Linked DNA regions of Homo sapiens: regions 2 and 3 are each linked to region 1. The links are contacts of gene promoters, found by promoter capture Hi-C in human tissues and cell types (Jung and others, 2019). All regions are on one chromosome and are shown on one strand. The core of a region is centred on a gene start or on the middle of the fragment in contact, and the rest is flanking DNA. Distances in the headings are between cores, read along the strand shown.

Region 1 (4,579 bases), core at 622-3,121:
ACACAGCCTGTACTGAATATGAAAGGGGAGAATGATCAGAAATATCCCCTCCTGCAGCCCTAGCAAACACTCCCTGCCCCCACCCCACTTGGTCCTGCAGGTACCTGGGGAGGCATCTCCAGAGTCCAGTGCATGCCAGTAGACCATGGTGTAGCCATTGGACTCGTACATCTGGAAGACCGGGGCAAGAACCAGGGGGCATAACCCAACTGACCTCTGCTGAGTACTTCACATATCCGTGTTAGCCTTAGCCCATTTAATCCTCAAAACAAATCTGGGATGTAGGTACTATTTTTATCCTAATTTTTTCAGAGGACAACAGTGAGAGTGAGAAGTTAATAGTGTAAGGACATACAGCTAGTAAAGGGGCAGATACTGGAGGTGGCACTTGGAAACTGGAAAAGATGGAAAGATTGAAGATAAGAAATAGAAAAAGAGTGAGTGGGCCAAGCATGTGAAAAGTCTGGAAGTGTTTAGAGGCAAGTGGGAAAGTCTGGAAGCCTGGCAGGGAAGCTGAGAAGGCTCTGGTGGGGCAAGCAGGAGAGTCCTCTTCTTACCTGTATTCCTCGATGTGAGGTGAGTACCAGCAGCACTCGGAAGGGGAGGACACACCAGTGGACCTGGAGGGAGGTGCATCAGTGTAGGGAGAAAATCAAAGCAGGGAAGATGAGTTTGTTTGTTTTTTTTTTTTTTTTGGGGGACGGAGTCTTGCTCTGTGGCCCAGGCTGGAGTGCAGTGGCGCCATCTCGGCTCACTGCAACCTCAGCCTCCTGGGTTCAAGCGATTCTCCTGCCTCAGCCACCCAAGTAGCTGGGATTACAGGTGCACGCCACCACACCCGGTTAATTTTTTTTGTATTCTTAGTAGAGAAGAGGTTTCACCATGTTGGCCAGGCTGGTCTCGAACTCCTGGCCTCAAGTGCCCGTCTCAGCCTCCCAAAGTGTTGGGATTACAGGCGTGAGCCACCGCGCCCGGCAGGAGAGGGGAGATTCTGAGGTTAGGACATGCCTGGGGAGATTCTGAGGTTAGGACATGCCTGCTCCTGAAGGTTTGGAGAGAAAAGGCTGGGGGTAGGACTGGGTTCAGCAACATCACTCCCAGCTCCATGCCTCACCTGAGTGATAAGTGGGGGACTCACTCCAGCACCCTCCTTAGCGTGGAGCTGGCGCTGGGCCAAGGGCACACCCTCAGGAGCAGCGCTGAGAAGCTGGGCGCTTGGTCCATGAACCACGCCAAAATACGTGAGGTTGCGAGCCGGCAGCTGCAGCACACTGAGGTTGTTGCACAGGGCGGCGGCCGAGCCTCGCAGGGGAATGGAGCGCTCCCAGCGGAACATCCTGTGTGGGGGTGCAGCCGAATCACCAGGCGCGCTACAAACAGACGCAGCGGAGATGCCCGAGGGCGGCTATCATCGAGCATTTCGGAAGATGCCTGAGACTGGGTCATAGGATGGGGTGCCCAGAGGACGGTGATGGGGGAGGGTCTCGAGGAGCAAGACAGGGGAGTCCCAGGGCTGTTTTGGGGCGACGGGGGAATCGCAGAGGAGGAATGGGGATGACACAGGACCACCCGATGGCCCCAAGCCCGCGAGCCAAATAAGTGTGATGAAGCCCCCAAGGCTTTCTCCCTCGGCTCGGATCCCTGAAGCCCCCGGCCTAGATCAGAGGTAACACCTGCAGCCCCAGATCGGCTCGCCTGACTCCTGGTTCGTAGGGTCCCTCCAAATCCGCCGCCACCATAGAGACGACGCACGTACGCACGGCCCTTGGGCGGGGTGAGCGGCCGGAACGTGCCGCGGGCGGCGCGGTTGCCGGGGCAACTGTGGGCGGGGCGAGCGACCCCGAGCCCGTGGTTGCCCAGGCGACTGTTAGGTGGCTTACGCGGCCCGGATGCAGCAGAAACACCAGCGTTGCTGCGACCGCGTTGGCGATGGCGCACGAAGGCTCGGTGAGCTTCAGTTCAGCTGGGGATGCGCCAGAGCCAGGGTCGGCCGTTAAGGTCGGTGTCGGGAACAGTGGGCTGGCTCTGGGCCGCCCAGTGCCCCTACTTGCTCCCGCCCACCGCGCGGGAGTTTAGATGACCAAGGAAGCCACGTCGGTACTCGGGCAGAAAACCTACACCTGCACGGTGCCCACTCAAACGCTTTGTTACACTCAAGCCATGAGGGAAAGGGTCAGTGGGTGGTGTAGAGCCCGAGAACAGGAAGTGGATTTTGAAACAGCTAATGAATGTAGTAAGTCTCTTACATGGTGGTGCGTATTTAAATGGATGAGCATTTAGAGAGGGAAGATAACAGAAAAAATCTATTTCGAGAATTTCAAGAGGAAGAAATATATTAAATAATTCAGAGACTGCACTTGAAAGTCAAATTGTTTAAGAGCCAATCAATTTTAAAATAAAGAAAACGGGGCCGGTCTCAATGGCTCATGCCTGTAATCCCAGCACTTTGAGAGGCTGAGGCGGGAGGATTGCCTGAGCTCAGGAGTTCAAGACCAGCCAGGCCAACATGGCGAGACCCCGTCTCGACTAAAATACAAAAAATTAGCTGGATGTGGTGGCGCGGTGCCTGTAATCCCAGCTACTCGGGAGGCAGAGGCAGGAGAATTGCTTGAACTCGGGAGGCGGAGGTTGCAGTGAGCCGAGATCGCGCCACTGCGCTCTAGCCTGGGTGACAGAGAGAGACTGTCTCAAAAAAAAAAAAAAAAAAAAAAAAAAAAGAAGAAGAAGAAAGAAAACGGATTTGAAGAGCCTTTGTGCAAAAATATCTCTGTCCCTTCTGGTCACCATCACGGGTGTCAGATGCGAGGCTGGGAGGGGAGGTCTAAGGAAACAACTCTCTTTACTCAGTCCAGTCAGCCCTGCTCTAGTCAAGCTTGGCCTGGGCTATGGGCCACTCCTGGTGCTTGCTACAGGGCTGTTCTCACTGGTGGATAGGGTTAATGAGACTTCAGGGATTTTGAGTTCTGCAAGACTTAGGAAACAGCAGATTTGGGGGGATAATGAATTTTAGGAAACAGATATGAGACAAGGTTTTAGCGGGGCAATAGGCAAAGGTTTGGGAAGATCACATTTGGAAGTACATTTTGGAAGGAACCAGGTTCAGGGAGACTGTTGTGGGGAATTGAGGGAGCTCCCAAGAGATTGTTTGTAAACTTTTTATGTCTCTAAAGTGAGTTTTGGGGACTAGTCTTTTTTTTTTTTTAAGTGATTACAAAAGGAAACAAACTCATTGTAGAGAACTTACAAAATAGAAAAGAGCATAGGAAGGAAACGTATCCTCTGTTATCATTTTGAAGTTTTCCTTTTGTTGAACACATAGTGGTTTACATATATGAGATCATAATTGATGTGTAAGTTTGTATCCTGCTTCTTTCAATTAACGTTACATCATAAACATTTGCTTTATGCCATTGCAAATTCTTTCTAAAGATTACCTTTAATGGCTGGGTTGGTGGCTCATGCCTGCAAGGTGGGCAGATCACTTGAGGCCAGTTCAAGACCAGTCTGGCCAACATGGCGAAACCCCATCTCTACTAAAAATAGAAAAAAAATTAGCCAGGCCTGGTGGCAGGCGCCTGTAATCCCAGCTACTCCGGAGGCTGAGGCAGGAGAATTGCTTGAACCTGGGAGGCAGAGGTTGCAGTGAGCCGAGATCTTGCCACTGCACTCCAGCCTGGGTGACAGAGCGAGATTCCGTCTCAAAAACAAAAACAAACAAACAAAAAAAGATTACCTTTAATCATTGCATAATATTTCAGTATATATAGCATGTCAATTATTTATTCTCTTTTTAAAGACATGTTTTCAATATTCTGCTATTATAAAAATACCGCAGAGAATTTGTTGGAGAATATATTTTTATCTTCATTTCAGAAAATGCCTTTTGGTTGTATTTATAGAACTGAAATTGCAGGGTTGAGGAAGTGAAAACATTTTTTAATGTCTTCATGCATACTGTTGCAGCATGGTATCACACTAAACCTTTGCCAATGCTGAGTATTCTTGTTTTTAAAATAATTCCAATTTGATGAACTAGAAATCAGAATGTCAATACTATATTTATTAGTCATCTACAGTCCCTCTCTTGTGAAATGTCATGTCCTTTGCTTATCTTTGGGATCTTAAATGGTTTTTCTTCTTATAGTTTAAATTTTTATTGCAATATAGCCCAAGCTGGACTTGAACTCCTGGGCTCAAGCAATCCCCCTGCCTCAGCCTCCCGAGCAGCTGGTACTGTGGGTGTGCGCCACTGTGCCTGGCCATTTTTCTTCTTCTATTTTTTATTTTATTAGTTTTTTTTTTCTTTTTTGAGACAGAGTCTCGCTCTGTCACCCAGGCTGGAGTTCAGTAGCATGATCTCAGCTCACTGCAAACTCTGCCTCCCGGGTTCAAGTGATTCTCGTGCCTCAGCCTCCCTAGTAGCTGGAATTACAGGCGCCCACCACCATGCCTGGCTAATTTTTGTATTATTAGTAGAGACGGGGTTTCACCATGTTGGCTAGGCTGGTCTCGAACTCCTGACCTCAAATGATCCACCCACCTCGGCCTCCCAAAGTGCTGGGATTACAGGCGTGAGCCA
Region 2 (4,391 bases), core at 201-2,700, 320 kb after region 1:
AGCATGCATTGGCTTGGCAACATGGTGGGCACGGCCCCTAAGAACCTCGCACTCCAGCTCCAGCGTGAGGTGCTGCCTAGTGAACCATGACATCGTGTGACTCCATAAATAACGGACAGAGGATTCAGTGTGGAGACTAGCAAGCTTGAAGCCATCTACTTCCAACCTGGTTTCTGGGGAAAGCTATGCCAGCATCTCGTGGGGCTGGCCTGGGGTGCATCTGCCCTTCGACTCCAAGCCGGGGACTGGAAAAGGGACCCCAGATGGTTTTCTGCAGACTCTCCCATCCTATCAGAGAGGACAGAAGCTGTCCTGAGGCTCCCTTCCCCAAAGGGAAGGGGTGTATGTCGGGAGGGATGAACTGGGTGGCTACCGTCCGCGCTTGGCTCTCGAGGGGCAGATGGCTGAGGACCTCGCCAGCGCCCGAGGGGCTTGGCTCGCCAGACCCAGCGAGACTGGGCGGGGGAGCACTACTGGCCTTTCCTGCCCATCCTTTACCATTACTATTGTCGCTTTTAAAAAATCCAATAAATACACATTTTAAATGGAATTTAAAACTACTCCTTTGTGAAAGGATACTATAAACTTTCTTTCCATTATTGTGATATACAAGGATAGAGTTTTAAAAACAAAGAGAAAATAAAAATAAAAACCCCCCAGACAAGGGGGGGGGACAACTTGGAGATATAAATATTAAGATCACGGAAAAATCACCCGACAGCCGTAGTTTCTTCTTCAAAGTGCTGGGGAAGTGGGGGTAAGGGAGGGGCGGGTCAGTTCTGAGGTTTGGACCATAAATACATATATATGATATGCGCATCTATATATGTATATAGAGATAAAAAGACTTCTGCACCCCCAACCCGCCCCCAGGTATGAGGGCAAAAGCACCACAGAGACAGCTCGGGCCAGGCCCGACGCTGAGGTACGCTGGCTCCCTGGCACCTAGATCCAGCGGCTGTAGGGGCCAGTGACCTTCGTGTAGGCATAGGAGGACACGGTGACCGCCGAGTCTGTGGGCACAGCCAGTGCCTGCCGGGTGGGGACGACCCCCTTCTTCTCTTTCTGCTGGGGCTCAGCAACCACAGTGCCCCCCCACTTGCGCTTCTTCCCGTAGAGCTTGGCCTCCTGCTGGCCCAGGCCCAGCCGGGCAGCCTCCTCCTGCCGTGCCCGTGCCCTCTCCGCCAGCTGCTTCATCTTGGCTTCCCAGAGGGCCAGCCCGTGGTTGGGCTGGTTGAGGTTCTTGTGCTGGTAGAAGACCAGCGAGATGCGGGTGGGGTGGCAGCGGTTGGGCTTCTTAAGCGGCGTGGTGGCGTGCAGCTCCCGCCGGGCACACTCGATGAGGATGGAGCCGTGGGCTGGGGCCACGGCCACGCCGCCGATGTTCTCGTCCAGGAAGTTGTGTTCACTGTCCGACCACAGCTCCTCCTCTTCCTCCTCCGCACCACCACCGCCCTTCTCCTCCTTCACCGCTCCCTTGCTGGGGGGCTCCTCAGCCGGCCCCTCCTCCAGGCTGAAGGGGTCCCACAGCTTCTCCTCTGACTTCAGAGCCCCAAACAGCTTCTCGCTGGATCCCAGGGGCAGACCAAAGGACTGCCAGGCCCTGTCCAGCTGGCTGGCCCCTGCGGCTGGAATCCTGCCCTCCTCTCCTTTCATGGGGTTCCACAGCTTGTCTTGGAACCCAGGACTACCTTTCAGGGCCGAGTTGAAATCCCCTGCCCCCAGCGCCCACGGCTTCTCAGTCAGGCTGGGCCCAGCCAAGGCCGAGGTGCTGTTCCCAAACTTGCAGGGGCTCCACGGTTTGCCTCGCAGCCGTCCTCCAGAGTGGGAAGCTGCCTGCTGCCCCTCACCGGGGAACAGCCCCCACTGGCCATCTGTGAAGTGGGAAGGGGCCAGGCAGCTGGCCCCAAAGGAACTGAGCTTGTCAGGGACGATGGCAGGACTCTCCCCAGACGAGAACACACCCCAGCTGCCACCCACACCGTTAGTCCTCTTGGGGGACATGCTTGGGCCTCCTGAGTACTGTCCCCAAAGGTGACTGGGTCCTCCATTCTGAGACACCTCGGACAGAGGTGTCTTGCCCATCTTGCCAGCGTCTCTGGGCACAGGCTCAGCCTGGGTCAGCGGGTCTACTGGCTCTTGCTTGATGGATCTGTTGTAGCAGTTGGAGCTCTGGGCAAAGGGGGAGGGGTCCCTGGACACTGAGTGGAGTAGGGGGGCCTTGGGAAGCAGATACTCCTTGGGGCCTGGGTACGCAGGCTGCTGGTGGTGAGGAGTGGGGTGGTGGGCGTCTGTGGGAACAGCCTGGCTGGGCAGCTCGGCAAACTCAGCACCACCGTAGGCCGGGCTCAGGCTGTTGTGCAGAGCGTGGAGGTCTGGCTTCTTCTCAAAACTGCCACTGCTGCCACTGTGCCCCCAGGCACCAGGACCCAGGAACTGAGAGGGGAAGACGGGGTTGCTGGATGGAAAGCCATAGTAGCTAAAAGACGGGAGAGCGTACTTGGAGTGGAAGCCATTGACGGAGGTCAGGCTGGGCTGTGCATAGTAGGAGTGGTAGGAGTACACGCTGTTCATGCTGTAAGGGTCGGAGGGCCGGCAGTTGCCCAGCACCGAGTAGCTCTCCACCACCGCGTTGCCGCTGTACTTGAAGGAGCTGAAGTGGTTCTGCGGCTCCACCTTGAGGGAGGGCTTCAGGCCTTGCTGGGACAATCCACCCTTCAGAGACAGGCCTGGGGAAACAGAAGGCAAGATGGCAGAGGGGCAGACAACACCACAGCCTGGAGAGGCCCTGGGTCGGGGACTGGGGATGGACCCTCCCTCTTTCCCAGGGATGTTTCCTCTTTTGGGACAGGCAGGTGAGGTGCTGAGGCATGTCCAGCCCAGAACGGGTCGTACTCCCTGGGCCCTGCTCAGCACAGGCCCCAGCCCCAGCCCCACTGGGGGTGGGAGGAGGCGATCCCTGCTGAGAAGCACCTCATGCGGGGTCCACAGTACCCCCACCGACTCCTCTCTTCACCCTAGAGAACTCCAGAAGTTGTACTGAACCACCACCACCCACTCTGTGCCCAGCCCAGTCGGGATCACTGCAGGGACCAGGGCCAGGAGAATGAGAACTCAGATGCCTGCCAGCAACCGTCTCCGCCCATAAGCCCTGCTGCCCTGGCACACACCCACATGTCCTGAAGTGCTGCTACTCACCTCAGTATCTCAGAGGGGAGCAAACTAGAGCTCAGAGGGGAGCCTCTGATTCTCTGAGGGATGCAAACTAGAGGAGAAACCCAGTGCTTCCCCTCTACCAAGCTCACTTCCACGCAGATAACAAGTCCTGCTGTACTTGCATCCCCACGGCCTCCTATCAGGCTGGCTGTGGCTGCTGCAGATACCCTTCTGACTGACAATTAAGCAGAGGCCCCAGTTCCAGTGTGATGCAGGAGGGTGCGTGGAAGAGCAGGGGCCCCCATGAGGACAGTGCCATTGTGACTCCAAGCGGGCACCCTCCCCCCACACACCTGGGTCCGACGTAATGCCCGCCAGCTCCAGGGCCTCCTGCTTGATCTTCTCCGGAGTGCTCAGCTTCTCCTTCTGAATCTTCTTCTTCTCGGCTGCTGCCTTTCTGGCTTCCAGCTGCCGCTGGCGGCAGGACTTGGCAGGCTCGGGCAGGCGTCGGACCTCGCGGGGGAAGGCGGTGAGCACCTGGATGGCTCCGCTGCCCACCTTTGCATTCTGGTTCTCCTCGCTACCAAACTCATCCGTGTTGGCCATCTTGTACAGGGGGAGAACATGCAGCTGCTCATCCTCGGGAATCTTGCCCACGCAGCGATTGTCTTCCTTGGTCAGGGTGCAGACCTGCCCCAAGCAGTGGGGGAGAGAGGACATGGGGTTGGGGGACCGAGTGCTGGGAGAGAGGGGTCTGAGCACCCAAAACACATGACCTCATCTTTCCCCACACAATCCCAATACCAGCCACTACTACTTCCAAGAGTTTGTGGAAAGCACATTGATCTTGGTTCACGGGGCAACAGTATCACCAGCATTTACAGTCCACTCATCAACTTTCAAGGCACATTATCTCCTATGATCCTAAGAAGGCTGAGAGGAGATGAGATACCTGGCAAGGGGCCTGGCCAGGACCTGGAGGCTTGCTCTGCCCTCTGGCATAGCACTGACGCCACAGCACCACGTTGCCCAGTGAAGCTCAGACCGTCCACCATTATCTTCCTTGTTCTAAACACTCAGCCTCCTTTTGCTCTTAAAATACGTTTCCTTTTGGGAGGCCAAGGCGGGTGGATCACCTGAGGTCAGGAGGTCGAGACTAGCCTGATCAATATGATGAAACCCTGTCTCTACCAAAAATATAAAAATTAGCCTGGCGTGGTGGCATGCGCCTGTAA
Region 3 (4,661 bases), core at 1,295-3,794, 500 kb after region 1:
ATAAAGGGAGACGTATCAAAAGGTGGTTAACAGTGTGGGCTCTGGATTCCAGTGACCTGGGGGTGAGGATTAAGAGAGAGAATCCACCTGCCACACCTGCCACACAGTTACCACCCAATAGACATTATATAACACATAATAAGTAATGGCTGCCTTCTTAGGCCCTCAGTGCCTGGGACATTGTTTCTCTCTCTCTCTCTCTGATAGGGTCTCGCTTGTCAGAGGCTGGTTTGAATTAGGCTCAAAGGATCTTCCCACCCCAGCGTCCCAAGTAGCTGGGATTACTGGTGTGAACCATCACACCTGACTTTTGTCGATCTTTAATAGACTTCCAGTTGGATTTCCACTTTCCTCAAGCCACTGTCCCTCTCTCTGTCAGTGGATAACTCCATATCCATTGAAGAATCTAGGTCAGCATTTTTTAAACTTGAAATAGAGTAAGACTGGAGTAGGGGTGGAAGGATGGGGAAGGGAGGTCAGATGGGTGCGGGGGGTTTGTGGGAACAGTCTGGGCAGCCTGCCCTTCTCCATGTGGAGGTCCGGATGCCCCTCTATAGCGCAGTGTCGGTGCCCTACATCTCAGATCGCTCCCGCCTCCTCCTGTGCCTTCTCTTCCAGCAACCAGAGCCTGCAGCTCTTCTTTGGAGGAGGCCTTTGCCGATACAGGTGGAAAGCCTAGGACTTCAGTCCTCCCAGGGAGCGCCCTCACCAACCACTGGCAGGTGGGACTGTGAAAGCCTGGCTCCCTGTCCTTCACCAGGCTAACCTTAGACTCCAGAGCTCCCAGTGGGCGGGGCCAGGCTGAAGCTGCCCTCTCCAGGACATTATCTGCAATTACCCCCTTGACAGATTTCCTCCCCTTTCCTCTTCTGCGCCCCCCTCCCCCGCACTCTGCTTACCAGCTGTCCTCAGAGCACTTCTTTAATAAGTCGTTTGCAGGGAATCCTCATTTCAGGGTCTGCTTCTGGTCCTCACACAGAAATCCCCTAAGGGCTTATGAAAGCCGCTCCTCCATCCCACCCCACCCACAGAGATCAAGTGCTGGGAGGGTGAAAGGAATGTCTGGCATTGAAGTGTCTGCGCTTAACCACTGGACTCCACTGTCTCCAAATGGGTATGTCTGGGAAGCTTCATGGACCAGGTGGGATCTGATGGGGGCACGAAGGCTGGGACTTTGCTAGGTGGGGAGGTGAAAGGTGCACCAGCCCAATGTGAGGATCTAGTTCTAAGGTGAACTAGCTGGGTGACCTAGTAACCAGTAAACTAGCTATAAAATGGGAAATGATGCTAGTACCTGCCTCATAGGGTTGTGGTGAGGATTAATTGAGGAAATCCATGCAAAACTCTTAACCTGGCCTGAATACATGTTAGCTATTATTATCATCCCTTATTTTCTCATAGTACTTTTAGGCGCTTGTTTCACTTCGTGTCACTGTCTTGTATGCATGTGTCTATCTCTGCCTGTATGCAGTGAGACCCTAATGGGCAGGAATCATCTTTGTTGGAAACATAAATCCCTTGTGGCCTTACCCGGCAATTCCAGATGCCAAAAATTCAGTAAATACTTGTAAAATTAAACAAAATTAACCTAGTGGGTAGGGAGGAAATTGATAAAGAGGGGAGGAGGAGGAGGAGGAGGAGGAGGAGGAGGAGGAACAGGAGAGGGAGGGAGAGAAAATGTCCTTCCTAACGATGCTACTCCTTTCTTAATTAATTTTGGGGCAAAATACAACCTGGCCAGGCGCGGTGGCTCACACTTGTAATCCCAGCACTTTGGGAGGCCAAGGTGGGCAGATCACCTGAGGTCAGGAGTTCAAGACCAGACTGGCCAACATGGTGAAACCCCATCTCTACTAAAAATACAAAAATTAGCCAGGCGTGGTGGCGCATGCCTGTAATCCCAGCTACTCAGGAGGCTGAGGCAGGAGAATCACTTGAACCCAGGAGGCAGAGGTTGCAGTGAGCCAAGATCGTACCACTGCACCACAACCTGGGCAAGAGTGAGACTCTGTCTCAAAAAAAAAACAAAAAAAAATACAGCCTAATCCTCAATGACAACCTCATAGAGATCATAGAGATCTTAAGCCCACGGTGACCCTCCTTCACGTGAGTGACAGTAACATTGTATGTGAACTCTTCATGTCACATCCCATAAGCCTATGTCACGACTGCGTTCATATTCCCTAGTGAACTGCCCTAGAGCACAAGGACTTACATCACTGAAAGTCTGTGTTTCTACCCCCATCCCAAGAGTCATCTAGCCTCATTCTTACTTATATTCAAGGAAAAGAAAACAAGATGACACAGTAGAAGGAGCACTAGCTTTGCAGTCAGATACTTGAATTTTAATCTGGAATCTGTGTGATCTTCGCAAGTCCTTGACTTCTCTGAGCCTCAATTTCCTCATCTGTAATATGGGTATAATGATAGCACCTACCTTACAGCACTATTGCATGGATTAAAAGTAATGTGTGAAAAGTCCTTAGCACTGTGTATGAGACATAGCCCAGGAAAAAAGAGCCCCACACAGAGAAGTAAGGCTTGTAGGTTTTAATGTTTCATGACTGGTAACAGAGTAGTCTCGAGGGGATCCTTGGAGAACCTGTTCTGACTTTAGAAGCACTTCCTGTGGACAATGGAGGGCCCTGCCTCATCATACTCAGGCTTGCTGATCCACATCTGCTGGAAGGTGGAGAGAGAGGCCAGGATAGAGCCCCCGATCCAGACTGAGTACTTCCGCTCTGGGGGAGCAATAATCTGCAAAGAACAAATGTGGTGAATCATGATCAGTCCCCAAGGGAATAAGCAAGGTGGTCCAAAAATCTACTTATCCCAGAAAAGGGGAGCCCCATGGTCAGAAAAGAACAGGAGAAACATTGTGATAGATTAGATTATTGCTCAAAACCTTCACTTCCCCCCTCTTCCCTTATTCCTTCCATGGGAAGAGTGCACTGCTCCCTGTAAGGCTGGGCATTGTGTTTGCTTTGACCAATGGGATATTAGCAGACATAACACAAACAGGGGCTTGAAATATGCTTGTGTACTTGGGCATGTTCTCTTGCTCTGCCATGTGCATGAGAAGAGCTGCCCCTGGGAAGCAGCTAGCCCTTCAGCCTGGGCCCATTAATGAGAAATATGGACTTGACCTGAGCTGGCTGGACCTGCAGTTAATTCAGAGCCACTTACTTAGCCAAGCCTGACCTTGATCAGCTAACTTCCAGGTGATGCGCAGATGCACGAGTAATAAATGCTCATTGTTAGGTGCCCCTGAGATTCCACGGTTGTTTGTTACTTGGCAATAGCTGACCAATACAAATATCTATAAGGGGAACCTTGTTCTGTTCTTGCCTGGAGTTTGGAAGCATGGGCAGGTTGGGCTGGGCTTCCTCCATGCCTGAGTATAAACCAGTCTACCCAAACCCTGTTTTGAGCTATCTGTCATCAGCCAATTATATCTCAGAAGTCCTCAAATTTATATCTACATTGTTCATGCTTTCCACTAGGAATCCTGGGCTTAGCTTTTAGAAATTGATTGTCAGGTCAAACAACTTTGAACTCTACTTCAAAGGGGATCCAGAAGGACTATGATTCTTCAACTAGTTTTCCAGTTTTGGAAGGGTCTAAGAATTCAGTGCTAGAGCAAACCAGATAATAAATTGATTTTTTTTGTTGCCGTAGAATCTCTTTACATATTCCCTAAATCACAGAGATCATGGAATTGTAGAATAAGAAGGATCTTTAGAAGTTATTTTATTATCCAGGCAGACAAAAGTCACACAAATGCTCCTTGAACAGATTATTTCAAGGACTGGGAATGCACAGCCACTAGCAAGGTAACAAATTTTATTGTTGGACACTTCTCATGAGAAAACTCTGGCTTCTCTTAGGTTGGTGGTCCTAAATATAAGCCCTACCCCCACCCCAAATCTGTTCTTCTGTGTCCTTGAGACTTGCCTCATCTCCCCCAGTTCCCCTATAACAAATCCTGCTGTCCAATTTGGATAGGTGCTCATATAAGCACACACCTGCCTGGACACATTTGCTCCTTCTATTTCCTCTGCTTAGAGTGTCCTTTCCCTTCCGCTTTTATTTAGATTGTCCTGGTATTGATAATGTTTACTAATTAGATCCTAAACTCCATGAAGGCTGGCACGTACTGTTTAAGTCAGAGCTGTGGCTCATGAATTGGGAAATGCATCAGATCACTGGTGGTTGTTTATCAGTGTAGGTGATGGGGGAGCAATTCAGACTTGTTGGACCAGAATCTGGGAGTGAGGCTAGGCGTGGTATACTGACACACAGTCCTGGTAAAAAGCCCCTGCCCCAGGCCTGGCACAGCTCTCCACAGGACAGGCCTCAGTAATGCACCATTCCTGTGGCTCTGGGTGAGAAGAGCCCACAGGTTCTCACCAGTTTCCTGCTGGTTTGCTCCATTTCTCTGTGATGAACACCATCTGTTAGGCAGGGGGAAGGCCCGGGGCAGCCTTCCTTCATGAAGGTTCTTAGAATATTGACTGAGAACACATTTCCTTACATCAGGCCTACTCCCCAGAGACCAGCTTTATTGTGAGACTTTGTAACTTTCAACCAATGTGATATTTCTATTCCCAACTCTTTCTCTAAAGCTGTTAGCAGCAAAGTTCCTAGAAGGAGCTAAAAAT

Evidence for each region. The method cuts DNA at HindIII sites, captures the fragments that hold promoters and counts their contacts. A contact is called where the count stands out against the background at its distance.
Region 2: a contact is called between a fragment that was not itself captured here and the fragment with the promoter of C2orf81 in region 1, in 2 of the 25 tissues and cell types used here (aorta and ovary).
Region 3: a contact is called between a fragment that was not itself captured here and the fragment with the promoter of C2orf81 in region 1, in 1 of the 25 tissues and cell types used here (pancreas).

Annotation. Positions count from the first base shown.
Region 1 is chr2:74,418,911-74,423,489 of GRCh38, reverse strand. It overlaps C2orf81 (chromosome 2 open reading frame 81), which reads left to right and starts at 1,871. Exons shown (of 3, transcript NM_001316764.3): 1 at 1,871-1,947. The coding sequence starts at 1,930. It overlaps WDR54 (WD repeat domain 54), which reads right to left and starts at 1,760. Exons shown (of 10, transcript NM_032118.4): 1 at 1,674-1,760; 2 at 1,115-1,337; 3 at 558-620; 4 at 105-171; 5 at 1-12. The coding sequence starts at 1,336. RefSeq lists an enhancer at 1,081-1,260 and a silencer at 1,661-1,940. The HindIII fragment of the contact is 15,765 bases long and covers 1-4,579 here.
Region 2 is chr2:74,098,731-74,103,121 of GRCh38, reverse strand. TET3 (tet methylcytosine dioxygenase 3) reads right to left here. Exons shown (of 12, transcript NM_001287491.2): 11 at 3,510-3,846; 12 at 1-2,729. The coding sequence ends at 946. Among named protein-coding and RNA genes, the nearest start is that of BOLA3, 47 kb to the left of the region's middle. RefSeq lists an enhancer at 3,173-3,672. The HindIII fragment of the contact is 4,695 bases long and covers 1-3,797 here.
Region 3 is chr2:73,917,528-73,922,188 of GRCh38, reverse strand. It overlaps ACTG2 (actin gamma 2, smooth muscle), which reads right to left. Exons shown (of 9, transcript NM_001615.4): 9 at 2,324-2,757. The coding sequence ends at 2,614. Among named protein-coding and RNA genes, the nearest start is that of DGUOK, 7.0 kb to the left of the region's middle. The HindIII fragment of the contact is 7,332 bases long and covers 1-4,661 here.